2 separate regions of the Homo sapiens genome follow, and region 2 is linked to region 1. The links are contacts of gene promoters, found by promoter capture Hi-C in human tissues and cell types (Jung and others, 2019). All regions are on one chromosome and are shown on one strand. Each heading gives the region's core, a stretch centred on a gene start or on the middle of the fragment in contact. The rest is flanking DNA. Distances are from core to core; before and after follow the strand shown. Region 1 holds the start of TSKU (tsukushi, small leucine rich proteoglycan). Region 2 has its middle 69 kb from the start of LINC02757.

The links. Contacts are between HindIII fragments. The study calls those that stand out against the background at their distance.
Region 2: a fragment that was not itself captured here is called in contact with the fragment with the promoter of TSKU in region 1 in 1 of the 25 tissues and cell types used here (neural progenitor cells).

The regions. Positions count from the first base shown.
Region 1 is chr11:76,779,968-76,785,998 of GRCh38, forward strand. It overlaps TSKU (tsukushi, small leucine rich proteoglycan), which reads left to right and starts at 3,389. Exons shown (of 2, transcript NM_015516.4): 1 at 3,389-3,437. It overlaps TSKU-AS1 (TSKU antisense RNA 1), which reads right to left and starts at 3,095. Exons shown (of 2, transcript NR_120562.1): 1 at 3,036-3,095; 2 at 2,614-2,889. RefSeq lists enhancers at 2,626-2,815, 3,050-3,694 and a silencer at 3,246-3,335. The HindIII fragment of the contact is 14,629 bases long and covers 1-6,031 here.
Region 2 is chr11:76,558,407-76,564,437 of GRCh38, forward strand. No RefSeq gene overlaps it. Among named protein-coding and RNA genes, the nearest start is that of LINC02757, 69 kb to the right of the region's middle. The HindIII fragment of the contact is 4,663 bases long and covers 1,060-5,722 here.

The DNA.
Region 1 (6,031 bases), core at 2,139-4,638:
GTGGCAGTGAGCTATGATTGCACCACTGCGCTCCAGCCTGGGTGACAGAGTAAGACCTCATCTCTAAGCAAATAAATAAAAGCACACAGCACCCTATGGCTTATAACACATTTGCATCTGTATTGATTCATTTGATCACCCCGATATCCCTGGGAGATAGGGCTTCTTATTTATCCCTATTTTACAGGTAAGGAAACTGAGGCTTAGGGGAGAAAATGACTTACCCAAAGTCCACAGTTAGCCAGGGATAGAGGAGTGATGGTTTGCACCTGGGATCCTTAGATTCCCAGGCCTTTCTGCTACACCACCTCTGCTCTTTGTGGAGATTAAAAGGCAACAGAAAGAGCACTGGAGCCCTAAATGTTGTGCCAGCTCCGCAGAGAACATGCTATGTAACCCCAGACAGATCTCTTGCCCTTTCTGGGCCGCACCACTATCCATCTAGTGTGGTTGTTTGGATTAAATCATGATCTTAAAAGTATCCAGCACAGTCCCTGACATGTCACAGTGGCCAAGATGATCACAAGAAGGGGAAGAGAACGGTGAAAATGATGGTGCTTATATACAAAGGACATGGCAATATCACAGATGGAGAGGCCAACTTCGCCAGAGAGAGGACTCCCTGGGGGCGAAGACACTGAACAGACATGAAGAATGGAGAAGGTCCACCTCCCTTCCCTTACTTCTAGGTGACTAGGGGACTAAAACTTGGGATGTGTAAGAGGGGGTGGCCAGAACTGATGCTGGAGAGTTAAGGTGAGGTGGGGGCATATCACATAGGCCTTGAATGCCACACCAAGCAGTTTGGCTTTTGCCATTGAAAGGTTTTAAGCAGGCAAGTGTCATGATCCATTCTGCAGATCTGCAGTTTAGAAAGGGCACTCTTGCTGGAATGTGGACAGCAGACAGAAGAGGAGAGTCTAGAGGCACAGAGACTCTCAACTGGAGGCACAGTGATGAGGGGAGGTGGGTAAAGTTCATGGAGATCCACCAGCTGAAGCCCCTCAAGGCCACCTCTCCCTAAGGGGAGGTCAAGGGAAATGATGAATGTGAAAGTGCTCAGAAACTGCTGCCAGCTACCAGCCAGTGTGAAGGGTTGTTGATTACTTTTATGTTAAATGTGAGGCCTGGAGCCTCCAGCCCAGCTGGCTAGAACCTGCACACACAGTGCAGTGGGAGTTAGCTTCCCTGAGTTCCCGGGCAGTTGGGTATTTTCATCTCCAGTTCTCAGATGCTGAACTTGAGACTCGCTAAACAATTCCACATGGAGGAGAGGATGGAAATCGTTAGTCTAGGGCAAGGGGAGGGGGGCGCCATTCCTTCAAAAGAATGTCCCTATGGGAGGGGAGGAAGCAGGAGGAATATAAGCTAGACAAGCCAGGGAGTCCAGAGGTCATTCCCGGGCACCCTCCCCTCCCAAGCCTGCTGGGCTTTCCAGTCTCTACCCCAGTCCCTGACGGAAGACATTTAGCAACCACACAAAGGAGCTTCCTGTGAGCCAGACTAATGCTTTACCTAAATTACCTTGTTTATTCCTCACAATAGCCTCTTCTACAGTTGCAGACACTGAGTCTCAGAGAGGTTAGGTAACTTGCCTAAAGTTACCCAGAGCTGGTAAGTGGCAGGGCTGGAACCTGAATCCTGACCAAGCTTGGCCCTCACCCGATGCTGATTGCAGGTCTCTCTCCCATCTAGGCCAGGAGCCTTTAGAGAGGGGAGGGAATGGGAGGGTGGGAAATGGGAGGGGCCCGACTCCTCTCTATGGGTCCCAGGGGTTGTGGAGTTGAATCCCTGCAGCCCTTTTAAGCCCAACAGTGAGGAAGACACTGGATACCAAAGGGCCCATGGTGCCATCCCAAAGACTGATAAGGAGTGTGAGCTGGATGATCACAGAAGGACTCCTAGTTCTGAAAGCTGGGATTCTAATCAGGAGAGGACAATGAATGGAGAGGAGAGACGGGAGTTCTCCCTGCTTCCACACATATGAGACCAGGCTCCTAGCCTTTTCTCTGCACATTCCTAACTGGCAGGGTCCACAGGTGTCAACCCAAGTGCATCCCCAAGACCACACAATGGCTCTGAGTGCAGAAAGGACCTGCAAGACCAGTTTGTTTTCTGGGCAGCAGATGATTTTGCTGGCCTGAGGCCTGGGGCAGTGGTCTCCACTCCTACCTCACCACCTCTCTAGTGTCTTCCTTCTTCCCCAAGTAGACCGGCATGCATGCACACACAGGCCCAAGCAACTCCTTTTTTTTTTTTTTTTTTTAATGAATAAGAAAAAGTAATAAGGAAAGAAGCAGCAAGCAGACTGGGTGTGTTAACAAGTCTGGGCCACTGCAGGAGGTACATTGCCCAATTTCTGCACCCCGAGGCCCTCCAAAGTCTAGGAGAAGCTCCTGGGAGGTCCAGGGCCCAAGACCAAAGCCTCTATCAACTCTCCCACCTGTGAACTGCCCCTCTCCCAAGGTAGGCATTGTCGGGGTGTGTAGACTGGGAGCCACCCACACACCTGACTCTCCCCTCCTAGGAAATGCGTCCACCAGGTCATTTCTCCTGCAAACCCTCATTTTAAAGTGTCTTGGATGCTTTCCTGCCCTTTTTTTTTTTTTTTAACATAAAGAGGGGTGAGAGCCCAAGAGCTACAGCAGGGGGAATAGACTGAAACTGCTGCCTACTCACACGCCAGTTTCCCTTCTTAGAACTCTAACCAGAAGCCAATGGTTTCCTCCTAAAAGAAAAACTCAATCTGTTGACTTTCTCTCTCCTCTCCTGCCAGCTTTTCTGCCCGAGCCGGGCTCTCTCTTCTCTGTGGGTTCGTCTTTCAGCCAGTCTTTCTCTGCTTCAGATTCTTGGTTTCTTGCTCCCGGTAGTCCCTGAACCTCTTTCACTCTTTAAAAAAAAATGGGGAGGGGCGGTGAACAAGCAAAGAGGAAGCCCTCACCCACCCACCAAATCTCTTTCTTACTAGCAACTAATTCCCTCTCTCTTTCCACACACACAGTCATACACACACATACACATACACAGGCACGTACTCCGGCGACCTCCAGATGTTCCCGACAGTGCGGCCATCTGCTTAGATTGCTGGGGCGCGCAGGGGGAGGGGGCAGGGATCCGGGATGCAGGAAGCTGTGAGCGAGGCCAACTAGAGGGGGCGGGAGCAGCGCACTTTTGAGACGCTCCCTAGAGTGGAACCCGGGCTCGGCTCAGGCTCCGCGGGCGGGGCGCGCGCCGAGAGAGGCTGGCACTTTGGCGACACTCCCTGAGCCGCCCCGCGGCCGGCCCGAGCCGCCACCCGGCGCCCGGCAGGGGGGAGCCTGGCTGCGGGCGGGGACCGGGGGGCGGGCCGCGCCGCGCGGAGAAAAGCGCTGGCCGGAGGGCCCGCGGCCGGGCCGCCGGGGTGAGCGTGCCGAGGCGGCTGTGGCGCAGGCTTCCAGGTGAGTGCAGTTCCCCGGGCGGGGCGAGAGTCCGCGCTGCGGTTGAAGATCCCAAGTCCCCGATCCTAGCCTCGCGGCCCCTTCGGAGGGCGGGCTGGGGACGCCGGGCGCAGGGGCGGGGCTGGGTCCCGCCGAGGCCCCTCAACTTTCGTCGGACGCCTAGGGCTGGGCGGGAGTGGGGAACGCCGACCCAGGGGAGAGGTCTTGCGGGAGACAAAGGCTACGCCCAGGGGCCGTGTGGGTCTTTGTGCGGACACGTGCATCTCACGTTTGTGGGTCTTTGTGGATTTGCGGTCGGGGACGCGCCGCTGTCGGTGCCTTTGTGTGTCCGTGGCTTTGCGCGGCTGCTTTGCGCCCGTGTCCACGTTTGCGGGCCTGCGCTTGGCTGTGGGCGTCGGTGGGCGCATCGCGTGTCTCCGCGTACGTGGTCGGTGCCTGCCGACGTGTCTGGGCTGGGTGTCCGCAGAGGGTGTGCGCACCGAGAGCCCAACGCCGCCCCACCCCCCCGCTCCCCCGCCGTCCCCTCGGGCCCACGACTTGGCTCCAAACTTTTCTCCCGGTTCCTCGGGCAACAGCCCCAGTCCTCCCCACCGCTACCCGGCCGGGGGCGCAGACAGCCCTCCCCCTCCCCCTCCTGAGGTCCCAGGACAGCAAGGGGCTGCGACGGGATTGGTGGTCGGGGGATCGGCAGCGCCTGGGGACTGGCTGGGCAGGGGCTGGGCGGAGCGTGCGGACTCCCCCTCAGACCCCGGCTGGGAGGAAGAGGCGAGCGGTGGGTCCCAGGCTCCGGCCCTGGGCTGGGGAGAGGAAGGGACAGGGCGGCTGGCGTTGCCCTCCCCGCGCTTCTTGGAAAGAGTGTGATCCAGAGTTGCGTCTGTTTGGTAGGGAGACAGGCTCCGCTTTGAGACCCACTCTCCGTTTGCAGCCCGCCCCCGGGGTAGGGGGCCAACCCTCGGACCCGGTAGGGGAGAGGGGGACTGCCAGTCCAGATCTGGGCATGCCCGAGGCGCCGGCTCACAGGACCCGGAGCTGGGCTGGGGGCCGTGGGAGCCTCACATACACAGGTTTCAACTGGGACGGCCACTGGCCCCTGTGCGGCGCTGGCAAGTTGCTCAGCTTCGCGGAGTCGCGGTCACTCTGGCACGGACAGGGCGAGAACTCCCTCGCGGCTCGGGGCGTGCGGTGGGAATAACCCGCGCCTCTGGAGCCGGGCGGAGAGCAGCGCCAGCCCACACTTGGCCTGGCGAGGAGGTGACTCAAGACCTTCGATTCTTCTTTCATCTTTGTGCGCCCTGCCCTTCGGATAAGTCTAGACTTGCAGTGCCTGGGGCTGACCGGAGGTGGGGGGGGGGGGGTGCTCAGAGCTGCAGGAGCCTGCTGGGCTTTTGAGCCTAAGTCGCAAAGATAACCGTAAACACCCTCCTCCCCACTGCTCACTCCAGTCTTTAACCTAGAACTTTGTCGGATGCTGCAGACATGATGGAAGGGCACAGGCCGCTAACCTGGGAAAGAAACAACTGTGGGCATTTTCCTTTCCCTCTCCGGCCTCAGTTTCCCTTCTGGAAGGGGAGGTATTGATAGCCTCTTCTGTTCTGGCTGACTGCTTCAGATCCCAGAACCCAGAAACACTTTGATGTTTAACCTACACCTCCATTCTGACCTGACCTATTCCGAGGCACTACTTTGCTCCCCAGGAAGGCTGCAATGCAACCGCCACCGGGCTTCCACCTACCCTTCCTCCAACACCAGGAAAGGCAAAAGCTGATAAATGAGTCAAAAATGGAGAGGGAAGGGAGGGGGATTGACCTTTTCTCCTCTTACTTTTTAAATGACAGTTTGTGGTGGTAAAGTCCAGATCAGTCTTCTTCTTAATCATAACTCCTGGGTCAACACAGGGGATGCAGTTAAGAGTTCATGCTTCAGTTTTCAGAGCAAGGCTGGCCTGGGCACTGAGGACACTTCCTAAAGAGGGTTGGGTCCTCCCTGAAAGCCACCTGGCCAAAACAAGTCCTAAGAGGGGTTCTGTGGGAATAACCCGGAGAAGGGGCCTGACAGGAGATTCCTCCTGCTCATGGTTTTGAAGTCAGTGGGTACACAGGGGAGGCAGGAAGAATCTCCCACAAAAGGATCAGCATGTGCAGGACCTGTGCATGAAAACAGCACAGGTGGTCAGCATGGTGGACCAGCAGACGCAAGGTCTTGAGGGTGGTGAATTGGAAGTGAACTTGAGGCTGGGAAGGCAGGGACCAAATCACCAAGGCCTTGAATGTCAGGCCGAGAAGGGGGATTTGAGCCTGTAGGCAATGGAGAGCTCCTGGAGGATTTAAACAGGCACAGCAGGGTGCGGTTGGTAATTCTATGAAACCCGTCTCTGGCTTGTGGGTGGTGCTGGAGGCCGAGAGACCAATCTGGAGGGCGAGTGATCCAGCCTCTTAGAGTCAAAGGGACCCAGATTTTACTCCCACCCCATTGCTTCCTACCTCTGTGGCCTGGGACAAGTAACTTATTTAAAATGTGAGGATACTAATTCTTGCTCCACTGATTTGGTGTATTAAATAAGATAATGAATTACATGTGCAAATAAATAAAAAGTG
Region 2 (6,031 bases), core at 2,141-4,640, 220 kb before region 1:
TGTGGTGCAACCATCACCAGTGTCCATCTCCAGAACTTTTTAATCAACCCAGACAAACTTCTTTAAACAATAACTCCTCATTCCTGCCTGCCCCAGTCCCTGGTAATCACCCTGCAGTCAGGAGTTGCCCTCTTCTTGATTCAGTGTTCAGTTGTTGCTGTAAACCTTTGACTGTTTTCTGGAGTTCTGACAAAGTTGGTTCTGACAGTTTCTGCTTGTTTTTTGGTATTTCTGTGAAGCTGCCTACCCTGCCATTTTGCTGACGTTACTATTAATGCCAAGGTTTTTGTTCTGAACACCTTGGAAGAAGAGAATGGCTATTAACTGAGATGAGAAAGACTGGGAAGATCTAATTTGGAGAGTAGAATATCAAGGGCTCAGTTTTGGATATATTAAATTCAAGATGCCACTAGATATCAAGGAGAGAAGTCAAGTAGACAGAAAAGAAAAGAGGTCTCAGGACTGAGCCTTGGGGTGGTAAGGACCTGGGGGTCAGGAAGATGAGGCAGAACCAGAAAAGACCGAGCAGAAGTAGCCAGAGGATGGGAGGTAAAGTTGGAGATTGTGGTGTCTCAGAAATAGGTAAAGACAGTGTTTTTGCTGCTAAGTCAAGTAACATGAGGACTCATGGAATTTGCCATGTGGAAGTCATTGGCAATCTTGGGAAAAGCAGTTTTGGTGGAGTTGGAGGAGAATGGGAGGAGAGAATTGGAGACCAAGAGTACAAATAATTTCATGAGTCACTGTAAAGAGGAGCAGAGAAATGGGGCAGTTGCTGGAAAGGGAAGTGGGATCAAGAATTGTTTGTTTAATGTAAGAAATTGGGATTCCTGATGGGATTGATCCAATGGAGAGGAGAAAGTTTGTGATGCAGGAGAGGAGAGAATTGCTGTTGCACTGTCCTTGAATAATGGGAGGGGACAGAATCTAGTAGAGGTGCTGGGTTCATCTGTTAGAAGAGGAAGAAGCAGGTAGGTAGGTAAATGCATTTGCTTCAATTTTATGATGGCTCTCAAATACACATCTGCAATTGCTCTCTTCTTTGAGCCAAAACTTACTTCCTTGGGACATCCCTGACTGAATTTTTCTAAAAGTACGTCAGCCTCAAGTTGTCCCAAACAAAGATCAACCCCTTTCCTTTCAACTTACTCTCTCTGCTTGTTACTCCCTATCCTTGGCAGCCCATTCATGCTGAGAAGAGGAAGGGTCAGTTTTTTCAGTAAGGTGGAAGCATCAAGAAAAAGGCAATTCCAGAGCTGAGGCTGGAAGATGGGTAATTTATCATGTGGAGAAAGGTGGGGAAGAATGAGACAGGCAAAGCATCAATGGTGGGGAGGGACACTGAGCTTGGGTTGGGAGGTGACTGGGGGCGGTGAGCTCAGAGCAGTCATCTAGAGGCTGTTACACTCCCAGATGCCAACAAAGCATTGTCAGGGGTTGTGGAGTTTCCCATAGGTTGTTATGTAATCCAAAAGGCTACTTGTCTTGAATTTTTCTTCCATAGCATTAGATTGTTGTTCTGCCAGAAGAACCCTGCAAGCTGCTTCCACCTCCGGGCCTTGTGCCGGCTCTTCCCTCGTCATGCAGTGCACTTCCCTCTCACCCATCATCTCCGTGGTCACCTCTTGGGACACTTCCCCAGAGTCTTTCTCCCTTAGCCTCCTCATCTGTCTCTCATTTATGGCTTTTCTCATTTGTTATCCCAATTTTTGCTCTGTGAGGGTTTTCCTCTGAGGGTTGAATTAATCTCATGTCCTTAGAACAGGCCCTGGCATGGAAAAGGCATCAATAAGTTTGTTGATTGACTATATAGAAAAAAAACCCAAACCATCTTGGTCTTAGGTCTCTGCCCACAGGTGCACAAATGCTTACTAACAAGCAAAGCCCAGAAATAACCTCCTTTCAGGCTGTTTTTAGATGAGGATGTTATTGTTGTGAGACGCGTGTGTGTCATCCATTCTGGACTCAGGAGACAGTGCCCATCTCTGCTGTCATTTGTTCTGTCACTTCAAAGTGCAGGAAAACCATGGGTGGTGATTTTAGAATCTTATTCAGAACCCTCAGGGAATGAGTCATTGTGCACTGACGACTTTTCCGGATTGCTGCCGTTCAAATAAATCAAGCAACAGGACATTATTGTTGTTGTTATTGTTGTTAATTTTAACTATTTTTGATGGTAAATTTCAGAAATGTATTATCATACTTTCCTCAGTATGATTCTACCATCTCGTTTCTTCAGAATCATTATGATGAGCATAGTTATAATAATTTTTCAGCTCAGCAATGAGAATACAGAGCTTTGCTGGCCTCTCCCTGGAGCAGATCCGGACCACAGCCCTAACTGTACGGTGGAGGGAGCTGAGCTGCCCCCAGAAATCAGAGGGGTAAGTCAGGGAAAGAGGCAGGCCCAGACCCCAAGCACAGGGCCAGTGAGTCCCAGGCTTCAAGTGCACCAGAGTCCCCTAGGGATCTTGTTAAAATACAGGTTCCGATCCAGTAGACTCAGATTCCTCTGTGGGCTGGGATCGGAGTTCTGCATTTTTAACAAGAACCTGGGCAATGCTGGTGCGACCAGACCACAGACCACCCTTTCCATATCAAATCTTTCTGTATCAAGTTGACCTCCCAGAGGTTTTCTTGTGATCTTGAGTGGATTTTACTGGGAAGCTTATCTTTCTCTGGGGCTTCTTACATGTACCAGGTGGTCTCTGGTGATAATAATTCCTCTAAAGTTTATAAAATGGTCACCTATTTCTCTTCATTCTCACAATAATCCTAGGAGGTAAGTTAGCACCCTTTTACCGACTGGGACACCAATTCCTGACATCACAGGGTTCCCAGGAGGTGGAGGCAGAGCTCATGGCTCTGTGTCTAGTGCGCTTCTCATCCCTTTCTGCTGTCTCCCCTTATATCTGTGCTCTGTGCCGTATACAGCCTTGTGGACTCTCAAGGCCGTGGGAGTGCTGTGGGGAAAATAATTGTGTGTGTGCACACATGTGCGTGCCTGTGTTAACAGGAAAGGCTGATTAGCAACAGCTGTAGCACGTGAGGCCCATGTAGTCTCACTTGGGACACCCTGGCAGAGACCAACGTTTCCTCTCTGCTCCATCTCCCTGTACCCATGAAGCCCTGGCATCATATTGTATGGGTGAAATATTGTGTCACAAGCAGCAGCGGTCCCTGCAGCACGTGCTGAGATGCTGTAGCTGCCCCACCTTCACCCCTTCTCATTTGGGGGCAGGCTGGCTGGACTTGATCTGCCAGCATCTGCTTCTCTGCCTGATGCCTTTCTCTGACCACTGGGGCTACTTTGCCCTGTACAAGGCGCTGAAGTGCTGGGAAATTAATGCCCCTCAGTCAACCAAGGGCTAATGGAAGCTGATGTAAAATAATCGAGCTCTCCTAATTTAGGATAACTCCGTGGCATTTTCCCCCACATTAAGCCTCAGTTACTCACCGTGGTGACATGCTTGATAATGTCTCACTTCCCCACTCCCATAATAGTAGTTCCTGGGATCCCTTCCTAAAGGAATGACTTGCACTCAACTCCTTGTCTCAGGGTCTGCTGGAGGAGGCCAAATTAAGGCACTTCTCCCAACCACTCTTTCTACTAAGTTACATCTGAACCCATATACCTGACTTTCCTCTCATCACAGTGGAGAAGTATTCCAGTTCCTGGTGAATTCAGACCCTCCATGAGGGGCCTAGATCGCATCCTTACAGCCCTCTCAAGATTTCCCTCTTGATATTATTTCCCTTCTCTGTGGCATCATCTTTCCTTCTCCCTCTCGCTTCCCTCTTGTCTCACTTTTCTCCTCCTCCTCCGTCTCCCTCTCTTCTAGAATACACCAACCTAGAAACAGGCTTCAAGATGACCCCTCAGGCCATAGTCTTCTGTTTCTGGGCAATATGGAGCAATAGTGACTGGATTTTTCTCATGTGCCTGAAACAGCCATAACAATAACAACACCACCACCACTATATGACACTGTGGTTTTCAAGACACTGGGCCTCAAGCAACAGCAGCCAGAAGATGGGAAAGAAGCAGGGTGAAGAAGTCTATGATTGCCCTAGCACAAGAGGGCATCATAGGGAAGAGCGTAGGGAAGAGAACCCAAGTAGAGCCTGCTGGGCTCTCTGAATTGAGAAAACTGGACTAAGAGTCCAGAGAGACCAAGGTAGTTAGAATGTCCAGGGCAAAGTAGTAAAGGAGAGAACTTCACAGAGAACTCCTGAGATTTGCAGTGATCCATGCATGCTTGTGAAGAAATATACAAGGCTAAGGGAAGCACCACCGGAACTAGAGGAAATCATAGCTAGTGCTCACACAGGGCCAGAATAGTGCCTCTTCCGACCAGTCAGTCTGGAAAACCTCATGCTTCACAAGACATTGAGTACGTACTCTGAAGGGTTTTGCCTCAGTAGTGGGGAATAGTAAGCCCTAGACTAACTGCTGCTCTAGTCCTTCCTAACAAATCTTAAAAGAAATACCAAAATGATCAAACTGTTTCCAAGTGACTTAACTGCATCTCAGAACAAAGTGCAAGAATATTTATAGTAATACAAAAATGTCCAACACTCAGCAAGGTAATATTCATAATTACTATCATCAAATAAAAAATTAACAGGCTTGCAAATCAATTAAAACTGGCCCAGGATTGACACAGATGTAAAAACTGGCAGGCAAGAACATTAGCACATTTATTATAGCTGCATTATATATGTTCAAAAGTTAAGTGGAGACATGGAAGATATAAAAAAAAAGACTCAGATCAAATTTCTAGAGATGAAATCTCTAGACTTCATTTACTGAAGTGGACTTCTTCCACTGAAGTCTTGAACTCCTCAAAGTCATCCATGAAGACTGGAACCCACTTCTTCCAAACTCGTGTTAATGTTGATATTTTGACCTCCTCACATGGATCACAAATGTTCTAAATGGCATCTAGAATAATGTTCCTTTCAGGAAGGTTCTTAATTGACTTTGCCCAGATCCATCAGAGGACTCACTATCTGTGGTAGCTATTATACCCTTACAAAATGTATTTTGTAAATAATAAGACTTGAAAGTTGAAATTACTCCTTGCTTTATGGACTGTAGAATGGATGTTGCGTTGGCAGGCATGAAAACAATCTTGTACATGTTCATCAGAGCTCTTGGGTGACTAGGTGCATTGTCAATGAACAGTAATATTTTGAAAGGAATATTTTTTTTTCTTAGCAGTAGGTCTCAATAGTGGCTTAAAACATTCAGTGAGCCATGATGAAAACAGATGTGCTGTCATCCAGACTTTGTTGTTCCATTGATAGAGCACAGGCAGAGTAGATTTAGCATCATTCTTAAGAGCATTAGGGTTTTCAGAATTGCAAATGGGCATTGGCTTCAACTTAAAATCAGCAACTGCATTAGTCCCTAACAAGAGAGTCAGCCTGTCCTTTGAAGCTTTGAAGCCACGTATTGACTTCTCTTTCCTAGCTATGAAAGTCCTAAATTACATCTTCTTCCAACAGAAGGCTGTTTTGTCTACACTGAAAATCTGGTGTTTAGTGTAGCCACCTTCAACAACGATCTTAGCCAGATCTACTGGATAACTTGCTGCAGCTTCTCCAACAGCACTTGCTCCTTCACCTTGCACTTTTATGTCCCATAGATTGCTTCTTTCCTTAAACCTCATGAACCAGCCTCTGCTAACTTCAGACTTTTATTCTGTAGCTTCCTTACCTCTCTCAACCTTCATAGAATTGAAGAGAGTTAGGCCTTGATCTGGATTAGGTTTTGGATGAAGGAAAGTTGTGGCTGGTTTGATCTTTTATCCAGACTGCTGAAACTTTCTCCGCATTAGCAATAAGGTTGTTTTGCTTTCTTATTATTTGTGTGTTCACTGGAGTAGCACGTTTAATTTCCCTCCAGAACTTTTCCTTTGCAGTCACTACTTGGCTAACTGGTGCAAGAGGCCTAGCTTTCAGCCTGTATCAGCTTTCAGCATGCCTTCCTCACTAAGCTTAATAATTTCGAGCTTTCGACTTAAAT